Regions from separate parts of the Homo sapiens genome. Here all the other regions are linked to region 2. The links are contacts of gene promoters, found by promoter capture Hi-C in human tissues and cell types (Jung and others, 2019). All regions are on one chromosome and are shown on one strand. The core of a region is centred on a gene start or on the middle of the fragment in contact, and the rest is flanking DNA. Distances in the headings are between cores, read along the strand shown.

Region 1 (4,881 bases), core at 1,120-3,619, 40 kb before region 2:
TCCATTGGTCTATGTATCTGTTTTTTGTGATCTTTTGAATTTTTTTCAAATACATTTATTATTGATATCATACTTATTATTTCTTTTTTCTACTAATTTTGGATTTGCTTTGCTCCTGCTTTTCTAGTTACATCCAATGCTATTATTGATAAGGAGGGACTTATTCCTGCCATTGTATTATCTGTTTTCTGGTTTTGTCTTCCTTTCTTCTTTCCTTCCTGTCTTTCTTTTAGTGAAGCTAATTGTCTCTGGCGGTATGATTAAATTCGTTGCTTTTTATTTTTGTGTATCTTTAGAGTGTTTATCAACTTGAAGTTACCACAAGGTTTGCAAATACTATCTTATAATCCATTATTTTAAATTGATGACAACTTAACACTAATTGCATAAACAAACACACAAAAACTAATATAAAATCTACACTTTCACTTCATCCTCTCACTTTTTAATTTTTGTTGTTTCTATTTCGTTTTATTGTACTACGTCTTGAAAATTATAAATATTATTTTTGGTTCATTGTTTAGTATTTCTACTGAAAGTATTAATAAGAGTAGTTTACACACCACAATTACTGTGTTACAATATTCTGTGTTTTTTTGTATACTTACTATTACCAGTGAGATTTGTACCTTTGCATGATGTCTTCTTGCTCATTAAAATCTTTTTCTTTCAGTTTGAAGAACTTCCTTTAACCCTTCTTGTAGGACAGGTCTAATGTCAATGAAATCCTTCAGCTTCTGTTTGTCTGGGAAGGTCTTTATTTCTTCTTCATGTTTGAAGGATGTTTTCACTGGATATACTATTCTATGGTAAAAGTTTTTTTATTTAGCATTTTAAATACCTCACGCCACTCTCTCCTGGCCTGTAAGGTTTCCACTGAAAAGTTTGCTAACAGATATATTGGAGCTCCATTGTGTGTTACTCGTTTCTTTTCTCTTGCTTCTTTTAGGATCCTTTATTATTGACCTTTGAGATTTTGCTTATTAGATACTCTGAAGTATGCTTCTTTGGGTTAAATCTACTTTGTGTTCTATAACCTCTTGTCCTAGACTGTTAATATCTTTCTTTACATTTGGGAAGCTTGCTGTTGTTATCCCTTTGAATAAACTTTCTACCCCATCTCTTTCTCTAAATCCTCTTTATGGCCAAAATCTCTTAGAGTTGCCCTGTCGAGGCTATTTTCTAAATCTTGTAGATGTGTTTCATTGTTTTTATTTTTTCAAATTATTTTGTCTCCTTTTACTGTGTATTTTTAAATAGCTTGTCTTCAAGTTCATTGTTTCTTCTGCTTGATAAATTCTGCTATTAAGAGACTCTGGTGCATTTTTCGGTATGTCCATTGCATTTATAAACTATAGAATATCTACTTAATTCTTTTTTATTATTTCAATTTCTTTTTAAAGTTTATTTGATAGGATTTTAAATTTCTTCTCTGTTATCTTGAATTTCATGGAGTTTCCTCAACATAGCTATTTTGAACTCTCTGTTTGAAAGGTCACATATCCTTGTTTCTCCAGGATTGGTCTATACTGCCTTATTCAGGTCATTTGTCATGGTCATGTTTTTCTTGACTTGATGCTTGCTTATAGATGTTTATCTACTTCTGGACATTGGAGAGTATTTATTGTAGTCTTTGCAGTCTGAGCTTGTATGTGTCAGTTCTTCTTGAGGAGGCATTCTAGGCATTCAACGGCTATTCAACCCAATAGCATTGTTGTTTTTGCAGACTCATAGAGGCACTCCCTTGGTGATCTTAGATAAGATCTAGAGGAATTCCCTGGATTACCCAACAGAGACTCTTGTTCTTTCCTCTTTCTCCCAAGCAAATATAATCTCGCTCTCTGTGCTGAGCAACCTGGAACTAGGGGTGTGGTGATGCAAACATCCCTGTGGCTACCACAGCTGGGACTGTGCTGGATGAGACCTGGAGCCAGCACAAGGGTCTCACTTAAGGCTCACTGCAACCAATACTTGGCTACTGCCTATGTTCACTCAAGGCCATAGGGCACTGCAATCAGCAGGTGATGAAGCCAGCCAGGTTTGTATCCTCTTCAGGGCAGCAAGTTGCCCCAGGCCATGGGTAGGTCCAGAGATACTCCTGGGATCCAGGGATTACAGTCAAAAACCTTAGAAATTTGCCTTATGTTCTATTCTACTGTGGGTAACCTGGCACTCAAACCACAATACAAAGTTATTCCCACTCTTCTCTCCTTTTCCACAGGCAGAGGAGCCTCTCCCTATGGGTATCATCACCACTGGCTCATAGGCATTCTGCCAGACCACCCCTGATGTTCACTTAAAGCCCAAGGGCTCTTTAGTCAGCTTGTGATGAATACTGCCAGGCCTGGGACTCAACCTTCAGGGAAATGACATCCCCTCTGGCCCAGAGCAGCCTAGAAATGTTGTTAAAGATCCAAGTCCTACACTCAGGGTCCCCAAGAGCTGGCTTGTTGCTCTACTCCACTGTGGTCAAGCTGGTAGCTAAGGTGAAGGACAAAGTTCCCTTTACTTTTAATTTTTCCTCTGCTTTTCTAAAACAGAAGGAGTCTTTCACTGTAACCACCACAGCAACAGTGTTGGAGTCACACCTGATGTCAGCATGTCTCAGAGCCCAAAGCCCATGGCATACCCATGGGTTCTACCTGGGTGTTGTTGCTGGTTATTCTGGGTCCAAGCGCTCTTTAGTCAGTGAGAGATGAGTCCTTCTAGACTTTCTTTCAAGGCAGCAGGTTCTCTTTTGGCCCAGGGTATCTAGAAATGTCATCCATGAGCTGGGGCTTAGAATGGGGACCTCACAACTCTACCCAGTGCCGTATCCTACTGTGGCTGAGCTGGTATAGTTCTCTTTACTCTTTGATCTCCTCTCCTTAAGCAGAAGAAAGGGGTTACTTTCATTGCTGCAAACTGTGCAGCCTGGGGTTTGGGTAGGGGTGGCACAAGCCCTTCCTTAGCTGCTCTGGCTCGTGTCTCCTTAGGTCATGTGCCACACTAGTCCCCTGTCTCTGAGCCCAGTTCTGCCCTAGGACTTGCTTAAAAATTGCTATGCTTGTGTTTTAAAGTTTACCTAGGATCCCAGAGCACTTTGGTCTGTGGTAGCAAGGCTTGCTGAGAAACCCAATTTTCAACTACTAGGAGGGGTGATTCCCCTCTGGCTAGGGCTTATTCAAATACTCCTTTCACACATGGGTATTGGCTGAGCCCTACACGACTTTGCTCTCTGCTACGACAAGGCAGTGCCAAATTCAGTACAAAGTCCTCCAGTCACTGTGTTGCCCCTCTCCAAAGTGCAGAGAATTTCCACACCACAAGGCTACTGCCAGGGAATAAGGGAGGCATGACATTGGTGATTCAAGTCTGTCTCTCTGACCCTATTCAATTCCTCTGTTAACAATATGAAGATAAAACCAGATACTGTGATTACTCACCTAATTTTTGGTTCTTGTGGTATTTTTTGAGTGCAGATAGTTGTTAAAATTTGATATTCCTGTGGGGGTGGCGGGGAACAAATGGCGTAGTCTTCTATTCTGCATTTTGCCCCACCCTTCTCATTTTTATTTTAATTTATGATATTGCTTTAGAAACCTTGGTGTTTCATAAATATCTTATTAAGACTTTCACTGTTCTACTCTTCTCATTTGCAAGATATTGAGGTAAACTTTATTTCCAATGCTAATGACTGACATGTAAATTGGGTTGACATTTTGGATAGAAGGAACCTAGATTTATCTCAAATATACTCGTTGTGATTAGCAATTTTCCATAACAGGGACAGCCTCAAAACAACAGCAACAAAAAGCTTATTGCATACTGTCAAAGCTCTAAGGGGAAAAGAACCTTGAGAAAGTCTCATTAAATTCATTCCACTGGTTTTAAGATAATAAATAAAAAATAATGAGAAGGAGCCTTTTCAAATAACTTGTAGTTATTATAGGATTATTCAGCAAAATAACATGGTACCCAATCTAAATGTACCTCATCTATCTAGGCTAAACTTTCCTATTGACATATATACACACATACATACAGACACACAGACACACATGCACACACACACACACACACACACACACACACATTCCCTTGGGAAAGGGGTAAAAAACTACACATGCTATCTTAAAATGTAGGTGATCCATGTTTTTCTATTTGTCCATTTGCAGAGAAGGGTGCTCTCTTTCTATCTGGTGGCTACCTAGACTGTTCATTGTGGTTATTTTGGTTGAATTAGCTCTCATCAGACCAATATGGTATCAATTCTTTTTAGTATGAGAGATTTTCACTTTTTGTGATTCAGGACAGCTTGCTCCATTGACTAATTATTTTTCTCTCTGTTCTTCAGTTAGGATAGGTTTTATTGATCTATCTTCAAAATTTGATGAAACTTACCTTTTGCATCTCCATTCTTATGTAACACTCATCCAATTCATTAATTTGTCAATGATTGACTATATTCAAAGTGTACAGTGTGATAATTTTATATTTGTATATATTGTGTAAGGATTACCACAATCAAATTAATTAATATATCCATTACCACTCATGCTAAACTTTAGATCCCAAGAATGTTATTTTCAGTTATTGTACTTTTCAGTTCTAAAATAATTCCTATTCTGCTGCTAGAATTTCTTCTTTTTCTTCATCAACATATTTTTCTTTCATCCTTGAGCATAGTTTTAATAGCTAACTTAAAACCCTTATCTGCTAATTCTAACATGTTGGTCATCTTAACTCAGGCCTTGGTTGTCTTTCTCTTGAAAATGGGTCATGTTTTCATGTTTTTTCATATGGTAAATGATGTTGGATTATATTCTCTAGTAAAGTGTAGTTGGAAGGGAGGAAATAGGAATGGAAGCAAGACTTCTCTGCCTATGCCTTTTAAATTTA
Region 2 (4,902 bases), core at 1,054-3,553:
TTCAATTTTATCTATAACTGTCTCTTCCTCTAGCACATGGCATGGCAAATGATAATCAAACTGAAATTGTCATTATTTTCTTGAATGATGGCACATTAAATTACTGACATTAGGTAATATCAATTATGCATAAGGCTTATCCTATTTTATATGTAAGCATCTTTCTTGAACAAATGGTTAGTAACACTATGGAAGTAAAAGCAGTATTACTACATCTATACATAGTGAATCCATAGAGTCAATGCTTAATATCATCAAAGTGAAAATAACTAATGTAATATTATATACATTTAGTTCCATTGCAATATGCTTTTATCCTGAATAGTAAATAATAAAGTTATAAGTTCCAGCCCAGAAAGGGTTAAAACTTTTCTAAATAACCACAAGAAATCCAGTCTTTTGTTACTTCCCTTCCCCATCCCCCCAAATCTTCTGCCAATCTACTTCACAATTATAAAACTGAACTCAGAGAATGTAAGGTTAAGAAAAGACAAATGAAATAGAAGATAAAAAGGCCAATAAAATCGCAATAAAAATCCTGTATTTTAATGTACAGAAACTGAATCATGTAAAGATGAAATAAACCTTTGACTTCTCCAGGTGGAAAAAAGAAACAGTGACTACTACAGTATAAAGCAAGAGCTAAAGATAATCAGCTAAACTTGGTATCAGCTTTTCAGTTTTTCCTTCTATTCAAGTCTTTGTGAAAAAAAAATGCACCCACATTCCTGGACCATAATAACCCAAGGCCAGGGAGCAAAAGCAAAGTCATGAACTGAGAGAGTTCTTTAGCCAATGTAAAAACAATAAAAACAGTAGAAAATCATTTTTTAAAAGTAGACTGATAGTCCATGCTAGAACATATTTTCACTGGCACAGTCTCTAAAAATTCCTCCATATTAGAAAATCATTCAGGTTTCAAATGAAGAATTGGGAATAAATGTCATACCAAAATAAACCCAATAACCCAAATGGAAGGCTGGGAAAGAAATTCATTTATGAACATAATATCACAAATTGTCCCTATTGAATAGTTATGTCAAATGGCAAACATTTTCTATAACGTGGAAACACTTATCTACTCCCTATGTATTCTCTACTGATAAGGTCTTACAATCTTGAAAGTCAAGATCATAGTTATTTTACTCAGCTTAATAACAATTATCACACATCTGTAGATATCACTCCTCTTCACAACCTTCTATGAAATTTCATGATTTAAAAAATACGTGTAAGTAAAATTCTGACCTTTTTCCTTTGGAATATACTGAGATCTAAAAATAGTACTTTTTTACTCTATGAAGTACGTCTAATTTTATGTACTGAAACCAAAAACTTGGTGTGAGAAAAGGAAAACTGAACGGGAAAATTGGAGCCCTAATTCAAGTTTCCAGCAGCTTTTAGCTAATTGTGCAACCTATAATACTTCCCTCATCTCTCTGGGCTTTGGTTAGCTCAGCAGTGAAATGAAATGGGCTGAGCCAGTTCATTTTGAAACTCTCTTTAACCCTGCTACCATATGATTCTGTCTTTCACTAGCAACATATTTCAAGGATACAAGAAAAACATAGCAGAGAAAAACACCCATATGGTACGCCCTGTAATAAAATATACATTGCCAAACCCCAATAGACAAGTTGCTTTTTTTAACCAAGATCAAACCCCAATGTAACCAGAGATATATTTATCTTCTCCTAATAAAATATAGATTTACCTACAAATAAGAATCACCTACAAAATAGATGAAACCAACATGGGAAAAACAGACCCCTTTTTCTTTACTCAGTACATGCTGCAATTTACAGAAGTACCTGAAAATTTAAGAACTTCCTGAAGGTAAATTCTCCCTAACAGAAGACAGTTTCAGGGAGAGAGATACCAAGGAAGGGAGAGAAGCTGCAGAAATAAGCCACAATTGCCTGACTGCCATTCTCATTTTCCTTTTAAATTAACTACCTAGGAAATCTGTATTCAACAACCGGGCAAAAAATAAATGAATAAACAGTCCACCCCAGAGTATTCAAGGAATAACCGCAGTCATAAGTTCAGTAACTTGCTTACCAAATTCTTCCCGGCTGGTGGTGATCGGAGCCATTTTTTACTGCGTGTTCTGTCCGAGGTGCTGAAGGGAAAACTGCCTGGCTGGATTCACTTGCCTGGATCTCAAGCGCCGGCTTTCGGAGCGCTGAAAACAACAGCGCAGAGCCCAGGGCACCAGCTCCTGGAACAGGGAGGAGGCAAAGAGGGAGGTCCACTCGCCCTCGCACAGTGATTTGCCACCTCGGTTCCTGTTTTGGCTCTTCTGAGAAGCTCGTCTCCGAGACTCCAGACGTGGCTGGAACCCGAATTGACGCAATCCTGACGCTACAGGGCTGAAATCAGCACCTGCCCCCCTCCCCTCCTCCCTTCAAGCTTTCCTTCTTGCTTCCTCCCTCCTCTCTTGAGGATTCAACACATGCTCATCAATTATTTTAACTGTTGGACCACTAGAGATTAGCTTTGCTGTTTTGTGGGGGCTCAGAGGCTCACCGAGATAAGCCCCGAAACTGATCCCTGTCAGTTCCTAATATAAAATCTCCTGATCACCTAGATGAATAAAAATATGTTTCTGAGTTTTCAGAATAACGTAACTTACAGAGGAGAAGTTTCTGCTTCAAATTACTCTTTTTAACATGCAAAAACATGTTTTCTTGCTTTTTAATTTTTTTCTTTGACATGTTATACCTATGATACTTATTACATTTAGAAAAGATTCACTACAAATTGATGCATTTGATATAAGATAGTTTTCCCAGTATAATCCTTTATGTTCTAATAAATTATTAGTCTAAATATTTTGCTGGAACAGTTGATCTTTCCTGGTCTCTCAGCTCTCTTCCCTTTAATATCTGACATTTGACCAGTTAAAGCACTTAGGAACAGATGGGGATAATTCCTTGGATATTCAGAGTCACTCTCAGTTATGACTTTTGCAAATAATAAGGCGCTTCTGAAATGACATTTATGGTTAAAAGGCCTGACTTCTAGTACGTTTGTACAAAATAGTTTCCAAAATCAGGCCAACATCTAAAGTAACATTGGTAACATTGGTTATTTCAAAGGAAAGCATTCCTTTTTCTAAACTGATGATATTCTCGGAGGTGAAAAACTGTGAAAAATATGGTGTCGGATTCTGATTCATTGGAATCTGAAGAGTGTGCCTTTCTAAAACAAATGCTTAGCAATTTTTCAAAGGAAAGAAGTCAAGCTGTAACTCCAACTGTCAATTATTGCTCTGCAAAGAATTTCTTTGCTCTGGAGTTAATAAGGAAATGGCATTCAGTGTGTGCTGGGATGTGGGAGAAGGGATACAGGGTGAGTCTCAGAAAGCTACTGTGCAAGTGACAGGTCCCTGCACATTGGCTAGCAGCAGCCCAGAGCATCAGGGCTCTGTCTGGGGAGAAATTGGCTTCAGTTCTTTGCATCATGGAAAATTTTATAAACCAGTCTTTTTTCTTTGCTATTCTATTTGCTCCCACATACTTGGCATTGGAGTGTTCCTCTAACAGATTTTTTTAAACTTTATATCTTCATGCTTTGAAAACACACAAACTAATTTGCTGTATTTAATTTTTCTGCTGGCAGAGTCTGTGGTTGTGTCTTTATCATTTCACTTTATTCAGATTACCTATTTCCTTAATTATGCATGCATGCACCCTGTAGGGTTGTCCCTAGAAACAAATATCCATTAGGTTAAAGAATAAGTGGCATTTATTTGTGATGCATATCATAGGTGGACCAAATACATGGTGTGATGTTTACTAAAGTATATATTTTCTAGCTAAGTTATTGCTAACATATGTTTAAGCTCATTTGTTGTAAACATAAATACCTTATGTGTTTGTTCTATAAATTAGTATCTCATTAATTTTACCTTCAGATGGTATAATGTTGTTATCTGTAAACTGTACAGATTGTTTAAACTCTATTTCTACGGAACCCACCCCATCCTTTGCTGTCTGACATCTGAGGAAACATCGTGATAAGATTACCTCTTGCCCAGAGCTAATGCTATTGTGGACTAAGTAACTATTTCATTGCTTGCTTTATAAGCAAACTGAAAAGAACTGTTATTAATTAAAATGCCTGAAGTTTCCCTCATTTTCATTTGATGAATAACATTTTAGGTATTATTCAATCTCTTTAGACAAGCTTCTAGCAACACCAGATGAGGAGTGGGCAGTAGACAGACCCCACACAGAGAAAAACCTGTACGTTTTTATGATTGAGATTCACACCCTACCACATTACTGAATTATTCTTTTTAGATCCATCAAACAAGTAACCAATTTACTGACGTGCAAAATACCGCTCTAGCAGGGGAGACTTGGGAGGAGGAGTTGTTGCTAGGTAACCACTTTTTCACCACCCAAAACACACAGCCTCAAACAAGTTCTTGCTTTGGCAAACACAGACCATTCTGTGCAGGCGGCAGTATTTACTTCAGAATGATTTTTTCACTGTTAAAATGGTTCAACTTTCACATTACTTTCTTTTCCAATTGCAAATGTCTATACATAATTTGAGAAACAATTAATAGAACACTTGAATTTAGTTTTAAGAAATTCAGTTTAATCTGAAAGCTATTGATGACTAATTATATGTTTTTATTCTATTTTATAACGTAATTAAATTTAGTATATATTTTGATTTTTAAATTATTGTTTATGTTATTTATTAATTGTATAGTTCAGTCTATATTTTCTCTTTTCTTTGAAAAATATTATTGGTGAAAGTATTTAGAACCTCATGCTAAGAAAAATATAATTTCAAAAAGTTTTGAAAATGTTGCCATGATCTTCAGTAATCTTTAGTAATACCTACATTAGTAATAAAATATCACTTTACTAAAATATCATTTTA
Region 3 (4,627 bases), core at 62-2,561, 56 kb before region 2:
ACATTTCCACTGGGCATTGCTCTAGTGAGGGCTGTCTGCAGTGGCTCCGCCCCATGACGAGTTTCTGTCTGAGCTCTCAGGCTTTTGACAACATCATTTGAAATCTGGTTGGAGGCTTCCAAGCTTTTATAGCTCTTACTTTCTGTAAGCTTGAAGAATCAGCACCACATGGACAAATTAAGGTTTCTGACTTGTACTGTCTGGAGCTGCTGCATGAACCACACTTGGGGCCACTAGGGTCTTGGCTAGTGTGGCCCCAAAGTGCTGTGCCCAGATGTAGGGAAGAGAGTCCCGAAGGAGTCCTTGGTAGCAAGCTCATAAAGAGCACTCTGGGCCTGTCGCCTGAAATCATTCTGCACTCCTAGGCTTCTGTGCCTGTAATGGAAGGAAAAGCCTCAAAGATCTCTGAAATGCTTTCAGGGCCTTTTTTTCCCCACTGTCTTGAAAGTTAGCACCTGGCTCCCTTCTATTAGTGCTAATATCTTTAGCAAAACTACACCTTTGATTTATACTTCTGAGCACATTTTTTGACTCTCTGTGTGGCCAGGCTGAGAATTTTCCAAATGTTTCTACTCTGCTTCCTTTTTAATTATAAATTCTGTATTTACATTATTTCTTTGCTCCCCAAATCTTAGTTTAAATAGCTGAAAGTAATCATGCACCTCTTTCTATATTTTGCTTAGAAATTTCTTCTGCCAGATACCCTAGACCATCACTCTCAAATTAAGCCTTCTACAAAGCCCTCAAGCATGGACACAGTTCAGTCAAGTTATTTGCCAATTTGTAACAAAGATGGGCTTTATTCCAGTTCCCAATACCTTTTTCCTCAGCTCTATCTAAAACTTGATCAGAATGGACTTTACTCCCTGTATTTCTATCAGCTTTCTGGTTCTGAAACTTTAACCAATTTGTAAGGATTCTGAAATTTCCCTAGTCTTCTTGTATTCTAACATCTAACCAGAATCTAAGCTTTTTCTAGTCTGCTCCTCCAATTTTTTTCAGCAGCTGCCCAATGCCCCATTCGCAAACCAATTCCACATTTTTACATAACTGTTAACAGCAACACCTCACTTCTCAGTACCAATTTTCTGTCTTAGTCTGTTTTCTGTTGCTTATAATAGAATACCTAAAATGGCAATTTACAAAGAAAATGAACTTATTTCTTACAGTTACAGAGGCTGGGAAGTTCAGGGTTTAAGAACTCCATCTGGTGAGAGCATTGTTGTTTTTTTTTTTTTCTTTTTCTTAAAGACAAAGCCTGGCTCTGTTGCCCAGGCTGGAGTGCAGTACTACGAACACAGCTCTCTGCAGACTTGACCTCCTGGACTCAAGTGATTCTCCTGACTCAGCTTCCCAAGTAGCTGGGACTACAGGCATGAGCCACCATGCCTGGCTAGTTTTTATTTATTTATTTATTTTTGTAGAGACAGGGTCTCACTATGTTCCCCAGGCTGGTCTCAAATTCCTTGGTTCAAACGATCCTCCCACCTTGGCACCCCAAAGTGCTGGAATTATAGGCGCCAGGCAACGCACCTGGTCTCTATTTATTTATTTATTCATTTTGAGACGGAATCTCACTCTATCACCCAGGCTGGAGTACAGTAGCGCAGTGATGCGATCTCGGCTCACTGCAACCTCCGCCTACCTGGTTCAAATGATTCCCCTGCCTCGGCCTCCTGAGTACCTGGGATTAGAGGCGCCTGCCACCACGCCCGGCTAATTTTTTGTATTTTTAGTAGAGATGGGGTTTCACCGTATTAGCCAGGATGGTCTCAATCTCCTGACCCCATGATCCGCCTGCTTCAGCCTCCCAAAGTGCTGGGATTACAGGCGTGAGCCACCGCACCTGGCCTTTTCTTTATTTTTATTTTTTTATTTTTATTTTTCTTGAGACAGAGTCTCGATCTTTCACCCGGGCCGGAGTGCAGTGGTGCTATCTCGGCTCACTGCAAGCTCTGCCTCCCAGGTTCACGCCATTCTCCTGCCTCAGCCTCCCGAGTAGCTGGGACTACAGGCACCCACCACCGCGCCCGGCTAATTTTTTGTATTTTTAGTAGAGACGGGGTTTCACTGTGTTAGCCAGGATGGTCTCGATCTCCTGACCTCGTGATCCGCCCACCTGGGCCTCCCAAAGTGCTGGGATTACAGGAGTGAGCCACCGCGCCTGGCCTTTTTCTATTTTTTAAAAAGAATCAGGATCTTGCTGTGTTAAGTGGCATAATCATTCGTGTCATCATAGGTCAGTGCAGCTTTGACCACATAGGTTCAAGTGATCCTTCCACCTCAGCCTCCTGAGTAATTGGGGCTATAAGAATACACAACCAGCATGTCCAACTTTTTTATTTATTTTTTTATTTTTATTTTTTTGTAGAGACCGTAGTCTCAGTATGTTGACCAAACTTGTTTTGAACTCATGGCCTCAAGTGATCTTCTCACCTCAGCCTCCCAAACTACTAGAATTACAGTTGTGAGCCACTGCTGCCAGCGAGAGCCTTCTTGCTAATGGAGACCCTCTGAAGACTGCTGATGTGTCATAGGATATCACATGCGGAGGGAGCTGAGCATGTTAATGTGCTGGCTCAAGTCTCCCTTTCTCTTCTTAATTCATGAGCCATTAATTCATTAATACATAAATGGAGTAATCCATTCATGAACTCTCTCCCTCACAATTCAATCACCTATTAAAAGCCCCATCTCTCAACACTGGCACATGGGGATTAAGTTTTAATAGGAGTTTTGGAGACACATTCAAACCATAGCATCAGGTAAGATACTTAAATCCCCTAAACCCTTGTTTCCCTAATGATGAGAGATGAGGTGAGAATTAAATGTGATAAAGCTTTTTTCATGGTTAACGTAGTAATGAGCACAACATAAACAATTAACAGATGTTCCCCATCATTACTAATTGTTAAATAATATATTTGTATTTAATAACCCTGAACATCTCTTTTTTAGAACTGAAGTAATGGATATTATGTTACTTATTCATTTTTCGTGACTCATCACCCTTTTGTATAACAATTAGATAATAACTTGTATTAACATAAAGTACCACAAAAGAAATTACTACAAATAACTGTATATTCAAAGAATGGTTTGGAAAATATCAAATTATTATTGCAAATTTTGTGTAATTGACTATGCCTTCTATTTCCTTTTAGAGTCCTTTCATCACCTGTAAGCTTTAATGTTAATATACACTGTGTACCACAGAAATCTAAAATTGTGTTACATAAAATGAGATTCTATGAATGTGATGTAATGGAAAAGGTGTAGGATTTAAACTCTTATAGACTTAGTTTTCAGTCTGTTCTACCACATATTACCCGTGAGATTTTGAATAAATTACTTAATTGCACTTTCTATAAATTTTGTTTTAAAAAAAGCAGGAATAGGGATATAGAAGGTGAATCATATCTTCTTTGTAGCAATGGCATAGGGATTAGAGATTTTTTAAGTCCGTAACACACAGATTCAATGAATGATAGCCATTAATACTAGGCATTAAAGAATTTTACGTATGTAAGGAATGGTTCATTCCTGCAAGGATATTTATTTATTTTTTTGTGAGTGACTTTTTAAAAATTTTTTCCATAAGTTATTGAGGCACAGGTCATATTTGGTTACATGAATAAGTTCCTTAGTGTTGATTTGTGAGATGTTGGTGCACATATCACCTGAGCAGTATACACTGTACCACATTTGTAGCCTTTTAATCCCTCACCCTCCTCTCACTCCTCCCCTTGAGTCCCCAAAGTCCACTGTATTATACATATACCTTTGTGTTCTCATAGCTTAGCTCCCACATATCAGTGAGAACATACAATGTTTGGTTTTCCATTCCTGAGTTACTTCACTTAGAATAACAGTCTCCAATCTCATCCAGGTCACTGCAAATGCTGTTAATTCGTTCGTTTTTATGGCTCCATAGTATTCCATCATATATATGTACCAAAGTTTCTTCATTCACTGATTGATTGATGGGCATTTGGGTTGGTTCCATGATTTTGCAATTGTGAATTGTGCTGCTATGAACATGCATGTGAAAGTATCTTTTTCGAATAATGACTCATTTTTGCTGGGTAGATACCCAGTAGAGCAATTGCTGGATCAAATGGTAGTTCTTTTAGTCCTTTAATAAATCACCACACTGTTTTCCATAGAGGATGTACTAGTTTACATTCCCACCAGCAGTGTAGAAGTGTTCCCTGTTCACCACATCTATGCCAACATCTACTGTTTTTTTTTTTTTATTTTTTTTATTATGGCCATTCTTGCAGGAGTAAGGTAATGTCCCATTGTGGATTTGATTTGCATTTCCCTGATCATTAGTAATGTTGAGCATTTTTTAATATGTTTATTGGCCATTTGCATATCGTCTTTTGAGAATTGTCTGTTCATGCCCTTAGCCCACTTTTTGATAGAAATTTTTCTTACTGATTTGTTTGAGTTAATTGTAGATTCTGGATATTAATCCTTTTTCAGATGTATAGATTGTGAAGGTTTTCTCCCACTCTGTGCGTTGTCTGTTAATTCTGCTCACTGTTCCTTTTGTCATGCAAAAGCTCTTTAGTTTAATTAGATCCCAGTTATTTATCTTTGTTTTTATTGCATTTGATTTTGG

The links. Contacts are between HindIII fragments. The study calls those that stand out against the background at their distance.
Region 1: a contact is called between a fragment that was not itself captured here and the fragment with the promoter of SYT4 in region 2, in 2 of the 25 tissues and cell types used here (dorsolateral prefrontal cortex and spleen).
Region 3: a contact is called between a fragment that was not itself captured here and the fragment with the promoter of SYT4 in region 2, in 2 of the 25 tissues and cell types used here (aorta and spleen).

Annotation. Positions count from the first base shown.
Region 1 is chr18:43,235,375-43,240,255 of GRCh38, forward strand. No RefSeq gene overlaps it. Among named protein-coding and RNA genes, the nearest start is that of SYT4, 40 kb to the right of the region's middle. The HindIII fragment of the contact is 4,002 bases long and covers 369-4,370 here.
Region 2 is chr18:43,275,187-43,280,088 of GRCh38, forward strand. It overlaps SYT4 (synaptotagmin 4), which reads right to left and starts at 2,304. Exons shown (of 4, transcript NM_020783.4): 1 at 2,062-2,304. The coding sequence starts at 2,095. The HindIII fragment of the contact is 4,332 bases long and covers 360-4,691 here.
Region 3 is chr18:43,220,092-43,224,718 of GRCh38, forward strand. No RefSeq gene overlaps it. Among named protein-coding and RNA genes, the nearest start is that of SYT4, 55 kb to the right of the region's middle. The HindIII fragment of the contact is 3,401 bases long and covers 1-3,012 here.